2 separate regions of the Homo sapiens genome follow, and region 1 is linked to region 2. Evidence: promoter capture Hi-C in human tissues and cell types (Jung and others, 2019). All regions are on one chromosome and are shown on one strand. The core of a region is centred on a gene start or on the middle of the fragment in contact, and the rest is flanking DNA. Distances in the headings are between cores, read along the strand shown. Region 1 overlaps ZNF616 (zinc finger protein 616). Region 2 holds the start of ZNF534 (zinc finger protein 534).

Region 1 (6,060 bases), core at 2,476-4,975, 300 kb after region 2:
GAAGAGGAAGAAGAGGAAGGAAAAGGAGTCAGTGATGGCTACTCAGGTAGAGTGATACTTTACTCAAGTGAAGTGATATTCTTGGTGGGTCATTCTGTCTCCTTCCTTTGTGAAGTACAGGGCGTCGGAGTTGCAAATCTTCTCTGAGTCTGAAGTGTCCTTCCTGACACATTTGCTCATGCTCATCCATGCTTTTCCTCAGTTCCTCTCATCTTATTTAGATTCCATCTCACCATGATCCAGTGACATGAACTTGGGAAGAGGCTGCACTGGGCATGGTCCTGGGAAGGGCTCACACCCAGACATGGATGGAGATGGGGTGAGGGTCCCGTGGTATCAGAGCTGTTGGGCAGCAGGGATTGTTTAGGGGCCACATCTGGATGCACTGTCAGCTTTCTGTAGACCAGGAATAGAGAAGCTGCATGTGGAAGTCACATATTAATGTGCATAAATACCTAGTAAATTATCGAAAGGGGCCAGGCGCCGTGTCTCATGCCTGTAATCTCAGCACTTTAGGAGGCTGAGGTGGGCGGATCACTTGAGCTCAGGAGTTTGAGCCAACATGGTGAAACCTCGTCTTTACTGAAAATACAAAAATTAGCCAGTCATGGTGGCAGGGGCCTGTAATCCCAGCTACTCAGGAGGCTGAGGCGGGAGAATAGCTTGAACCCGGAGGTGGAGGTTGCAGTGAGCCAAGATGGTGCCACTGCACCCCAGCCTGGGTGACAGAGCAAGACTTCATCCTCAAAAAAAAAAAAAATATGGAAAAGGAGGCGTGTAAGGGGAGATCTTTCTGCCTGATTTTATACTACATTTGAAGCTGTATGAATGAGTCACTATTTCTAACTGCCTTAATGACAGGGAATTGAATGGAAAACTAGATACAGACATTAGAGCGTGTTTTATTCCATCATTGATTTAAAAATATGAAATCAACCTGAATGTCAGATTCTAGCCATGGTCAGAATATCCATCTCACAGAGACTGCGGTGTTCCTGCGGGGACTCTTACCAGCAGTTGTTTTAAGTTTTAAGGTTATAATTTTGCTCAGATGTAAGAGCTGAACATTTGTTATCAGAGAAGATGGAGCCAAATTCTCTCACTGCACCAATTATTATTAAATATTATATTTATTTTAAACATCACATGATGTATATATTTGTTTTTTTGGTAAAATTTCAAGCAGAGATGCAGTTTAGGCATTAAGAAGTTAATACAACACGAGGATGATAGGAAATAATTTTGTTTTGTTTTTTGCTTTTTGTTTTGTACGGAGTCTCGCTCTTGTCACCCAGGCCGGACTACAATGGCGTGATCTCGACTCACTGCAACCTCTGTCTCCCGGGTTCAACCGATTTTCTCTTGCCTCAGCCTCCCAATAGCTGGGATTACAGGCGTGCACCACCACGCCTGGCTCATTTTTGTATTTTTAGTGGAGATGGTGGGGGGTTTCATCATGTTGGCCAGGCTGGTCTCGAACTCCTGATCTCAGATGATCCGCCTGCCTCAGCCTCCCAAAGTGCTGGGATTACAGTGTGAACCACCACACCCAGCCTGTAAATAATGTTTTATTATATATGAAATTCATGCTAAATGAGATTTTAGCTGTTCTGGCCAAAACAGAGGGAAAAAAAAAAAAAGTAACTGTGAGATGATGGGTGTGTTAATTTGTTAAACTCTAATGACTTTTTTTTTTACTATCCATACCATAATACCATGTTGTATACCTTAAATATACACAATGTAATTTATCAGCAAACAAAAATGGGCATCAAGGAAACATTTTAGCTTTTTTTTTTTTTTTTGAGACGGAGTTTCGTCTTGTTGCCCAGGCTGGAGTGCAATGGCGCAATCTTGGCTCACTGCAGCCTCCGCCTCCCAGGTTCAAGCGATTCTTCTGCCTAAGCCTCTTGAGTAGCTGGGACCACAGGCATGCACCACCGTGCCTGGCTAATTTTGTATTTTTAGTAGAGACAGAGTTTCTCTATGTTGGTCAGGCTGGTCTCAAACTTCCGGCCTCAGGTGATCCACCCGCTTTGGCCTCCCAAAATGCTGGGATTACAGGCATGAGCCACCGTGCCCAGCTTTAGTTTTACACAGAAAGAAATTTATAACCTAAGAAAAGGACATCAAGGCATATATATTTTAAAAATTTAACTACAGAATATGAAATGGCTCCTAGAATGCAGTAAAGGAAAACTGAGCAAAGAATGAAAATTATTTTGGTTTGATTTCCACAAAATAATGAAACCTCCTCACAGTCCAAGGAATTGGAAAATGGAAATACGAAGGGTTTTCATTTTCCCCATAGCCTCAAAATGTAAACAGAACATAGTAGTAAGTTTTTTTTTTTTTTTTTTATTGGGTGGGAAATCCACCCAATATGTGTCGTTGGTGTATGAGGACACCATTGCACCTTAGGGTAGTGGGAAATCTTGCCAGATCCAGGAAAATAGGAAATGCACCATCCTAAAGAGGCAATCACTCTTTCAGTTACCCAACCTGGAGGAACCCGGGTTTCTTTTCCCTGTCACTTTCTCCATCATCCCTCATGTTTCCGTGGGGAGCTACAGTTGTAAGTTCTGTGGCAAGAGTCAGTGAGAGGTGTCAAGATGCATTTACGTGTCATTATGAGATTTTAGAAAACAATTCTTCAGTACATGTTCTGTTGTGAAATTTCATTGTGCCAGTTTTTCAAAGATACATCTTTTTTTGTTAATAAGCAGTAATAGCTTGTTTTGCATCCTCTTTGGAACAATCTCTAAATGAAGACATATGGATCTTTTATAATTTTTCACCATGGCTGCCACAATGCTCTCTTCACCACAGGTGTTTGAGGGTTCCTTCAGGTTGGACAGTTTAAAGAGTGGTTGCTTCTGTTAGGACGCTATACCACAAAAGCAAAAATAAATAACTGATCTTTCTTTGGAAGGCCTGGCTCGCTGTGTGATTATAAAATACTGTGTTTTTTTAAGATCTAATATTTTGTTGCTTACATTTTATTTGCTTGAATCTTTAATTTGAATTTTTCTGTATATCTTGTTGTAGATTATATTTGATTATAAAGTTTTAGATTATAAATAACATAATAGGTTCACAAGTAGATTGGCAAACCCCTCCATTTTCTTTCCAAAATTATTATGGTTCTCCTTTTACACAACACAGCCACATATTATTTAAATTCCACATATTGGCCGGGTGTGGTGGCTCACACCTGTAATCCAGGCACTTTGGGAGGCCAAGGTGGGTGGATCACCTGAGGTCAGGAGTTCAAGACCAGCCTGGCCAACATGGTGAAACCCTGTCTCTACTGAAAATACAAATATTAGCCGGACATGATGGTGCACGTCTTTAATCTTAGCTACCTGGGAGGCCGAGGCAGGAGAATCCCTTGAACTTGGGAGGTGGAGGTTGCAGTGAGCTGAGATCGTGCCACTGCACTCCTGCCTGGGTGACAGTGAGACTCTGTCTTCTAAAAAAAAAAAAAATTCCCACATATTTTGTTTGTGTTTTCATGGCTCTGAATTTTTTCAGTTGCAGGCCTTTATGTCACCATGTCTTCCAAAAAGAATCGAGTTTGTCAGTCTTTGATAATATCTTTATTATGTCTTTCATTAAAGCTTGTTTGCTTATGTAAAGTTCAGTAATGTTAGATATATTCACATTATTTGTTGGACTCCCAGAATGCATATGTTCTTGGTGCTTGATGGTTTTTCATGGGCCCATTAGACTCTCTTCATTTTCTTTATTTTATTTAATTATTTATTATTTATTTTTTGAGATGGAGTCTCGCTCTGTCGCCCAGGCTGGAGTGCAGTGGCATGATCTCGACTCACTGCAACCTCTGCCTCCTGGGTTCGGGCAATTGTCCTGCCTCAGTCTCCCTGAGTAGCTGGGACTACAGGCACGTGCCACCACACCTGGCTAATTTTTGTATTTTTAGTAGAGACGGGGTTTCACCGTGTTGGCCAGGCTGGTCTTAAACTCCTGACCTCAGGTGATCTGCCTACCTTCGCATTTTCTTTATTTTTGGAGACAGAGTCACACTCTATTGCCGAGGCTGGAGTGCAGGGGTGGGATCTCAGCTCACTGCAACCTCTGCCTCCTGTTCAAGCAATTCTCATGCCTCAGCCTCAGATTACAGGCATGTGCCACCATGCCTGGCTAATTTTTGTATTTTTAGTAGAGATGGGGTTTCATAATGTTGGCCAGGCTGGTCTCGAATTCCTGCTCTGAAGTGATCTTCCTGCCTGGCGTTCTGAAAGTCCTGGGATTACAGTTGTGAGCAATCATGCCCGGCCCACATTTCTTTTTAATTCTTCAAAGCCAAGATGTAAATTGCCATTTCTTTCATGTAGGTTTGTACAGATTCAGTTGGTTTCTTTTTGTAGACCGTATTTCCCTGTTTCTTTGTATGTTTTATTGTCTTCTTTTGTGACTTCAGCATTTGAAAAAATCAGCTGCCTGCCCAGATTTGGTGGCTGCTTTGTTCAGGGAGGACATTCCAATCAACTACCCTAGATTCTGGAGACTTCCCATGCTTTTTCTCTGGGCCTTTGCTTGTCATCTCCCTATTGAAGAGGTTTGCTGCTTTCTACTCAGAAGCTCCCCTATTTTCTGTACTATTGTGGATAGACTCTGGTACTGCAGATATCTGTGGTACTAGATCTTCACCCTCATGTCTTTCTGTGTTATTGCAGACACCGGTTTACGTCAGTTATCTTTTTGCTCAGTGGCCCCTAACCTTTCATCCTGTTCCTTTCAGTGCTACCACAGGAGGTCACCACTAAGGCAATTCTCAGCCTAGCCATGGAGGCAGGGACACCTTAGAGAGTGCTTATTAGGGCAAGGTCAAGGGGAGCCCTGGAAGCAGGACCACGCCTGAGACCCCAGAACTGTAGAGTCACCAGTATGTGATCCCAGCTCGGGAAACCACAGCCTGTGAGAAGTTCCATGTGGGTGATCCCAACAAAACTAATGGGGCAGGGATCCCCAGGACACTGGGGACCTAACTCCTACTCCAGGATGTCTAGAAGGTGGGACATAGAGTCAAAGAAGATTATTGTCAAGCCTTAAGATTTAATATGTGTGCCCTATTTGAGTTTCAGACTTAACATGGGAGTGGCTACCTCTTCTTTCCTGTTTCTGCATTTTGGAGTTGAAATATTTAGCCTGTGTCTACGCCACCGTTGGATGTTGGAAGCACTTAAGTCGTTTGATTTCACACGTTCACAGCTGGAGAGCAGTTTGCCTCAGGATGAAACACATTTTTGAGTCTCACCCATATCTGATTTAGATTATAGTTAGATGCAGCTGTAGACTATAGACTTTTGAATTGGTAGTAGAAAAAGTTAAGACTTTGGGGGGCCATTGGGATGGAATGCATTTTATATGTGAGGAGTACATGAATTTTGGTGGGGCAAGATGGAATGCTGTGGTCTGAGTGTTTTTCTCTCCTCCACAATTCATTTGAAACTTAATCTCCAATGCCCAATCTCCAAGTATTATGAGGTTTGGGTTTTAGTAGGTGATTGGATCCTGAGGGGTCTGCCCTTATCAATGGGATATGGTGTTCTGGTCAGTGAGATATCAAAACGCTTATCCTACGGAGTTCACTGCTTTTTGGCCCTTCTGTTCCTTCTGCCACGTGGGGACACAGCATTCCTCCCCTCCAGAAAATGCAACAAGACACCATCTTGGAAGCAGGGATCATCCCTCAGCAGACATCAGTCCTTCTGGCACCTTGATCTTGGATTTCCCAGCCTGCAGAATTATGAGAAATATATTTTTATTGTTCATAAATTACCCAGTCTGTCTTATTTGGTTATAGCAGCACAGACAGACTAGGATATTCTGTAACCATAATGTAACTGTTTGATTGTTTTGATTCAACTCTAATTCTCAGACATCTGGGTTCAGATGCTTGCTCTGCCATTTTCAGGTTGTTGACCTAGGCAAGTTTGTTAGCGTGTCTGTGACACAGTAACATGGAACAAGTCTCTCTCTCATAGGCTATCATGTTGTTATTTGAATTAGAACATGTAAAGCATTTGGAATAAT
Region 2 (6,825 bases), core at 3,147-5,646:
ATACAAAAAATTAGCCAGGCGCGGTGGTGGGGGTCTGTAGTCCCAGCTACTCAGGAGGCTGAGGCAGGAGAATGGTGTGAACCCAGGAGTGGGACATTGCAGTGAGCTGAGATTGCGCCACTGCACTCCAGCCTGGGTGACAGAGTGAGACTCCGTCCCCTCCCCCCCCCAAAAAGAGAAAGAAATGTTAGGTTTTATTTTTGACACATCAAGTGACATTTAGTATCTACCTGAGATACAAGTAGTGTCTTCAGAGATGACAATGTCTACAGTGCTTTCTTTCTTTTTTTTTTTTTTTTTTTTTTTTGAGATAGGATCTTACTGTTTCCCAGACTGGAGTGCAGGGGTGTGATATCCACCCACTGCAACCTCTGCCTCCCAGGCTCAAGTGATCCTCTTAAGCCTCCCGAGTAGCTGGGACTACAGGCTCACACCACTATGCCCAGCTAATTTTTGTATGTTTTGTAGAGATAGAGTCTCACCACATTGTCCAAGCTTGTCTCAAAGGCCTAAGCTCAAGTGATCCTCCCACCTCAGCCTCCAAAAATGCTGGGATTACAGGCATGAGCTACCACATCCGACCTATAGTGGTTTTTAAAAATGGTCAAAATCTGGGCCGGGCGCAGTGGCTCACACCTGTAATCCCAGCACTTTGGGAGGCCGAGGCAGGTGGATCATGAGGTAAGGAGTTCGAGACCAGACTGGCTAACATGGTGAAACCCCATCTCTACTAAATACAAAAAATGAGCTGGGCATGGAGGTGTGCACCTGTAATCCCAGCTACTCAGGAGGCTGAGGCAGGAGAATGGCTTGAAGCCAGGAGGCAGAGGTTGCAGTGAGCCGAGATTGCATCATTGCACTCCAGCCTGGGTGACAGGGCGAGACCCTGTCTCAAAAAAAATAAATAAATAAATAAAATAAATAAAAAATGGTGAAAATCTGAAAACTGCGATGATAACAACAGCAATGGCTGAATAGAACACTTCCCATGTGATAGGCACTATTCTCAATGATTTACATGAACTAACTGGTACAGCAACAAAAGCCAATGAAAGAATAATCTGCTCCTATCTTACTAAAAAGACAACTCTTTCACATACACGCTAGCTTGCCCCAGGTGTGAGAACTGAAACAGCAGAGTAAGCAGCAGATCACAGGTGTCTGAGCATGAGAATCAAACCTAAAGAATCAGACAGTTAAGTAACAGATCAGCATCAAAAGTAAATTGACAGTTACCTAATTCAGTAAATTTAAAACAACTTCAAGGATTAAAAACATGGAATTGCCTAATAGTTCATTATATATGCATATATATAATCGATATCCCCATAATACATTACTATAATGTTCTTATAGCCATTGCCTCATTGCCTCTTATAGCCACTATCAGGTATGATGCCTCATATCATCATACATGATAATGTAGAAAAATTTGAACATCCTGATAAATAGATGTAATTTCAACTGATAAAAATATATATATATATAATGATGACATGCTATTTATAAAAACTATAGGTTTGCTCATCTGTGCACTCATGCAAACACATCACATGTACACACTTACACATATATATACTAACACTCATATACACTAGTACACATATACATTTATATGGCCGAGATCACAAAACCACACTCCAGCCTGGGCAACAGTGCGAGACTCTGTCTCAAAAAAAAAAAAAAAGGAATTCCACATGCAGCTTCTCTAGTCTTAGTCCACAGAACACTCACAGTGCATCCAGATGTGGCCCCTGAACAATCCCTGCTGCCCAACAGCACTGACACCACAAGGCCCACACCCCATCTCCATCCGTGTCTGGGTGTGAGCACTTCCCAGGACCATGCCCAGTGGAACCTCTTCCCAAGTTCATGTCATTGGGTCATAGGGAACTGGAATCTTAAGTGGAAGTGAAAGGGACTGGAAGAAGCCATGGGTAAGTGCAATGAAATGAGTCAGGCAGGATGCTTCAGAGTCAGAGATTAGCAACTCCAATGCCTGGCATTTCAGGAAGAAACAGAGACAGAACAATCCACTGAGAACATTACCTTACCTGAGTAAGGGCCATTCCTGACTTCCTTTCTTTCCTCTTCCGAGTTGCTTCCTTGCATAATATGTCTCTTTGAAAGTGAATCCTAGTATCAAAAATAATGCTGTTTAGGGCTTAGAATCAACACACCCACTTCCTGTGCCACAGCCACACAAAAAGGGAAGACTTCACCTTCTGGAAGGATGGTCCTCTGCTGCCTACTGTTGATCTCCCACAGGAAAATCAACAAGTGAGTTTTTTACTCCCTTCCTCAAAACTCTCTCCTGTCTCATGGTGAGCGACACACACACTGCAGCAGTGCAGAGCTGGGCTTGACTAAGCTCCCCTTAAAAGCACAGACTTGGCCGGGTGCGGTGGCTCCCACCTATAATCCTAGCACTTTGGGAGGCCGAGGTGGGCAGATCATGAGGTCAGGAGTTTGAGACCAGCCTGGCCAACATAATGAAACCCTCGTCTCTACTAAGGATACAAAAAATTAGCTGGGCGTGGTGACACGGGCCTGTAATCCCAGCTACTCAGGAAGCTGAGGCAGGAGAATCCCTTGAACTTGGGAGGCAGAGGTTGCAGTGAGCCGAGATCGCACCATTGCACTCCAGCCTGGGTGACAGGGTGAAACTCCATCTTAAAAAAGAAAAAGAAAAAAAAAAGGCCATGTGTGGTGGTTCACGCCTGTAATCCCAGCACTTTGAGAGGCCAAGGCAGGTCGATCACGAGGTCAGGAGTTCAAGATCAGCCTGGCCAAGATGGTGAAACCCCGTCTCTCCTAAAAATACAAAATTTAGCTGGGTAATGGCAGGCACCTATAATCCCAGCTCTTAGGAGGCTGAGGCAGGAGAATTGCTTGAACCCAGGAGACAGAGGTTGCAGTGAGCCAAGATTTTAACACTGCACTCCAGCCTGGGTGACAGAGTGCGACTCTATCTCAAAAAAAAACAAAAAAAAAGCACAGACCTCACCCTGACCAAAGCTCATGCAGAGCACAGGCCCCTCAGCCCTCTGTGGATCACAGTGCTCAATTCTAGATATAGACTATAGTAGAATCCTTTTATCGATGTGCACTATGTTCCAAGAGCCCCAATGGATGCCTGAAACCTCCATCAGTACTAAACCCTATTAATTCCCCTTAAAGACTCCATGTTACAGCTTCTCACTGGCATATCCAAATTGTCAGCATCAAGGCCGGGCGCAGTGGCTCACGCCTGTAATCCCAGCACTTTGGGAGGCCGAGGCAGGTGGATCACCTGAGGTCAGGAGTTCAAGACCAGCCTGGCCAACATGGTCAAACCCTGTCTGTACTAAAAATATAAAAACTAGCCGGCCGTGGTGGTGGACACCTGTAATCCCAGCTACTCGGGAGACTGAGGCAGGAGAATTGCTTGAACCCAGGAGACAGAGGTTGCAGTCAGCCAACACAGTGCCACTGCACTCCAGCCTTGGCGTCAGAGTGAGACTCTGTCTCAAAAAAACCCAAAAAAAAAATTGTCAGCATCAATCAATACTCATGTGCCTGGAGGGCATTGTTAAGGGAAAAAAAAAAGGGTTACATGAAAAAAAAGCACTGAGATACCATAAAAGTGGATCTCATCCAAAAGACTATTGGCCAAGTACGGTGGCTCATGCCTGTAATCCCAGCACTTTGAAAGGATGAGGCGGGCAGATCACCTGAGGTCAGGAGTTCGAGACCAGCCTGGCCAACATGGTGAAACCCCATCTCTACTAAAAATACAAAATTAGAGAGGCATGGTGGCGTATGCCTGTAATCCCAGCTACTCGGGAGGCCCAGGCGGGAGAATCGCTTGAATCCGGGAGGCGGAGTTTGCAGTGAGCCGAGATCACGCCATTGCACTCCAGCCTGGGCAACAAGAGCAAAACTCAGTCTCAGGAAAAAAAAAAAAAAAAAGACTATTAAGTGACTAACGAGCAGATACAGTCTAAAGTCAGCCCTTGGTATCTCTGGGGTACACATCAATGGATTCAATCAACTAGACTGAATAATTACAAAAAATGAAAAAAAAATAGCAAAGTGCCAGGATTACAGGCGTGAGGCACCGCGCCCGGCCTAGAAGCCTCCAAGCGGTTTTAACACGCAGGTAAGCGACCTCCAGACTCTCTAGAGAATGTCTGAATTTACTTGGAGTGGATAGAGCGGTGCCGGGACTTCAAGGTCTGCATGAGCCCTCAGATCGCGGGTGTAGAAGCACACAGGAACTGGGCAGCCTAAATTTAATCTAGACAAAGGCAAACTCACGAGTGGCGGCTTAGACAGTCTTTCCGCGCAGTCGGGTGCCGGGTCTACAGGAAAAAGCGCGCGAAACGTTCACTCCATGATCTCGACTTCCGGGTCTGCAGGAAATTGCGCGCGCATCGTACAGGCCGGGCCCGGGGCCGAGGGCAGGGCCGGGACAGGGCGGGCTCAAGGCGGGGTCTATGCTTCTGTCAGTCTGACTCAGCGATCCTGTTTTAGGGTTTTGGAGGCGAGATCTGCTCAGCACTTCTGTAAACAGATCTGTAAACAGATCTTGCTGGGGCAGAGCAAAATCGGTTGGTGATTAGATTAGATCCACGAGAATTCCTGTTATTACAATAAATTTTAAGTCCCAACTACTCTGGAAGCAGAGAGAGAAGAGAGCGTGAAAAGAAAGCAAAAAGAAAGACAAGGCCGGGTGCGGTGGCTCACTCCTGTAATCCCAGCACTTTGGGAGGCCAAGCCGGGCGGATCACGAGGTCAGGAGATCGAGACCATCCTGGCCAACATGATGAAACCCCCGTCTCTACTAAAAACACAAAAATTAGCTGGGTGTGGTGGTGGGCGCCTGTAGTCCCAGCTACTCGGGAGGCTGAGGCAGGAGAATCACTTGAACCCGGGAGGCAGGGTTGCAGTGAGCCGAAATCGTACCACTACACTCCAGCCTGGCGATGGAGTGAGACTCCGTCTCAAAAAAAAAAAAAAAAAAGAAAAGAAAGAAAGAAAATAAGACTAGAGAGAAATAGTGCAACAAAGAAAAGAATGTAGGTGTCTGTGCCTGTGTGTGAGAAAAAGGGAGAGACAAGAAAGAACGAAAGAAAGACATTTTTTTTGTTTGTTTGTTTGTTTGAGAGTTTCGCTCGTTGCCCAGGCTGAAGCTCAATGATGAGATCTCGGCTCACTGCAACCTATGCCTCCCAGGTTCAAGTGATTCTCCTGCCTCAGCCTCCCGAGTAGCTGGGATTACAGGTGCGCACCACCACACCCGACTAATTTGTTGTATTTTTAGTAGAGACGGGGTTTCACCATGGCCAGGCTGGTCTTGAACTTCTGACCTCAGGTGATCTGCCCGCCTCGGCCTCCCAGAGTGTTGGGATTACAGGCGTGAGCCACTATGCCCAGCCAGAAAGACAAATTTTAGGAATTAAGACACTTTGGAACTATCTGTGAAGGGGATGGAAGCTAAAGTGTGAAATGCTAAACCCTGCCAGAGTGGAATGCGCAGTATCATGCCAATGCCCCATAGAATAGAAATACTTTTTTTTTTTTTTTTGAGATGGAGTCTTGCTCTGTCGTCCAGGCTGGAGTGCAGTGGCACAATCTCGGCTCACCGCAAGCTTCGCCTCCCGGGTTCACACCATTCTCCTGCCTCAGCCTCCCGAGTAGCTGGTACTACAGGCACCCGCCACCATGCCTGGCTAATTTTTTTTGTATTTTTAGTAGAGACTGGGTTTCACCGTAGTCTCGATCTCCCGACCTCATGATCCGCCCGCCTCAGCCTCCCTAAGTGCTGGGATTACAGGCGTGAGCCACCGCGCCCGGCTAGAAATACTTTTCATTTACATTCCCCATTCACTCCAGAGGGTGAGGTCAACCCTGTGCTCAATTCCAGAAACTTTCCTAGGGACACCACCTTGGGCATAGAGGACTAAGGTCAGTGTGAAGTCAGGTCACCAACTCTTTTTAAAAAAGCCAATAACTTTAAAAATAGGTATAAATTATTTAGTTTAAGACTTTTTTTTTTTTTTTAAAGACAGGGAATCAACCTGTGACATCCAGGCTGGAGTGCAGTGGCACAATCATAGCTCACTACAACCTTGACTTCCTGGGGTCATGGGCACCTCCTACCTCAGTCTCCCGAGTAGCTGGAAGTACAGGCCTGTGACATTGGACTGTGCTAATTTTTTAGTTTTATATATTATTATTACTTTGTAGAGATGGAGTCTCACTTTGTTGCCCAGCCGGGTGTCCAAGTTCTGGCCTCAAGTTTTCCTTCTGTCTACACTCCCAAAGTACTCAAATTACAGGCATGAGTCACTGTGCACAGGAGGTAAGGACCCCACATCAGGACCTCAGGTAGTTTTGAAACACAAATACGTAAGATCCACAAGCAGGACTATTGGCTAGAGACAGTGGGGTCACCTGAAGAAATTTTCTTTGACCTGAATAGCAACTTCTCACCCAGGTCACTGGGATCCCGGACTATGGCACTGTTCCAGGCAGGCCTGGTTATCCTGCTTGAGGCAGCAATCCTCTTGAGCCTAGTGAAATGCAACTGGCTGTACCTCAGTGATGTCGCGCTGAGATTCTGCCAGTCAAGATATTACTTCAATCTCCTGAGACAAGCCTCTACCTCCAGATCCAGGAAGGTCAGTGCACACATAAATTGACTAGCTTTATTAAAGGGGATACTGGGTTGGTGGGGAGACTGCAAGACAGCACTCAAGTGGGGTTGAACTGGCCCAGTTGCGTCTGACTTCTCACTTGTAGTTCCCAAGAATGAATATAAAATGTGCTAGAAAAGCAACA

Evidence for each region. Contacts are between HindIII fragments. The study calls those that stand out against the background at their distance.
Region 1: a contact is called between a fragment that was not itself captured here and the fragment with the promoter of ZNF534 in region 2, in 1 of the 25 tissues and cell types used here (bladder).

The regions. Positions count from the first base shown.
Region 1 is chr19:52,124,487-52,130,546 of GRCh38, reverse strand. ZNF616 (zinc finger protein 616) reads left to right here. Exons shown (of 4, transcript NM_178523.5): 2 at 1-46. The coding sequence starts at 35. Among named protein-coding and RNA genes, the nearest start is that of ZNF616, 12 kb to the left of the region's middle. The HindIII fragment of the contact is 6,561 bases long and covers 445-6,060 here.
Region 2 is chr19:52,426,719-52,433,543 of GRCh38, reverse strand. ZNF534 (zinc finger protein 534) reads right to left here and starts at 4,396. Exons shown (of 5, transcript NM_001143938.3): 1 at 4,300-4,396; 2 at 2,055-2,136. The coding sequence starts at 2,069. The HindIII fragment of the contact is 9,448 bases long and covers 5-6,825 here.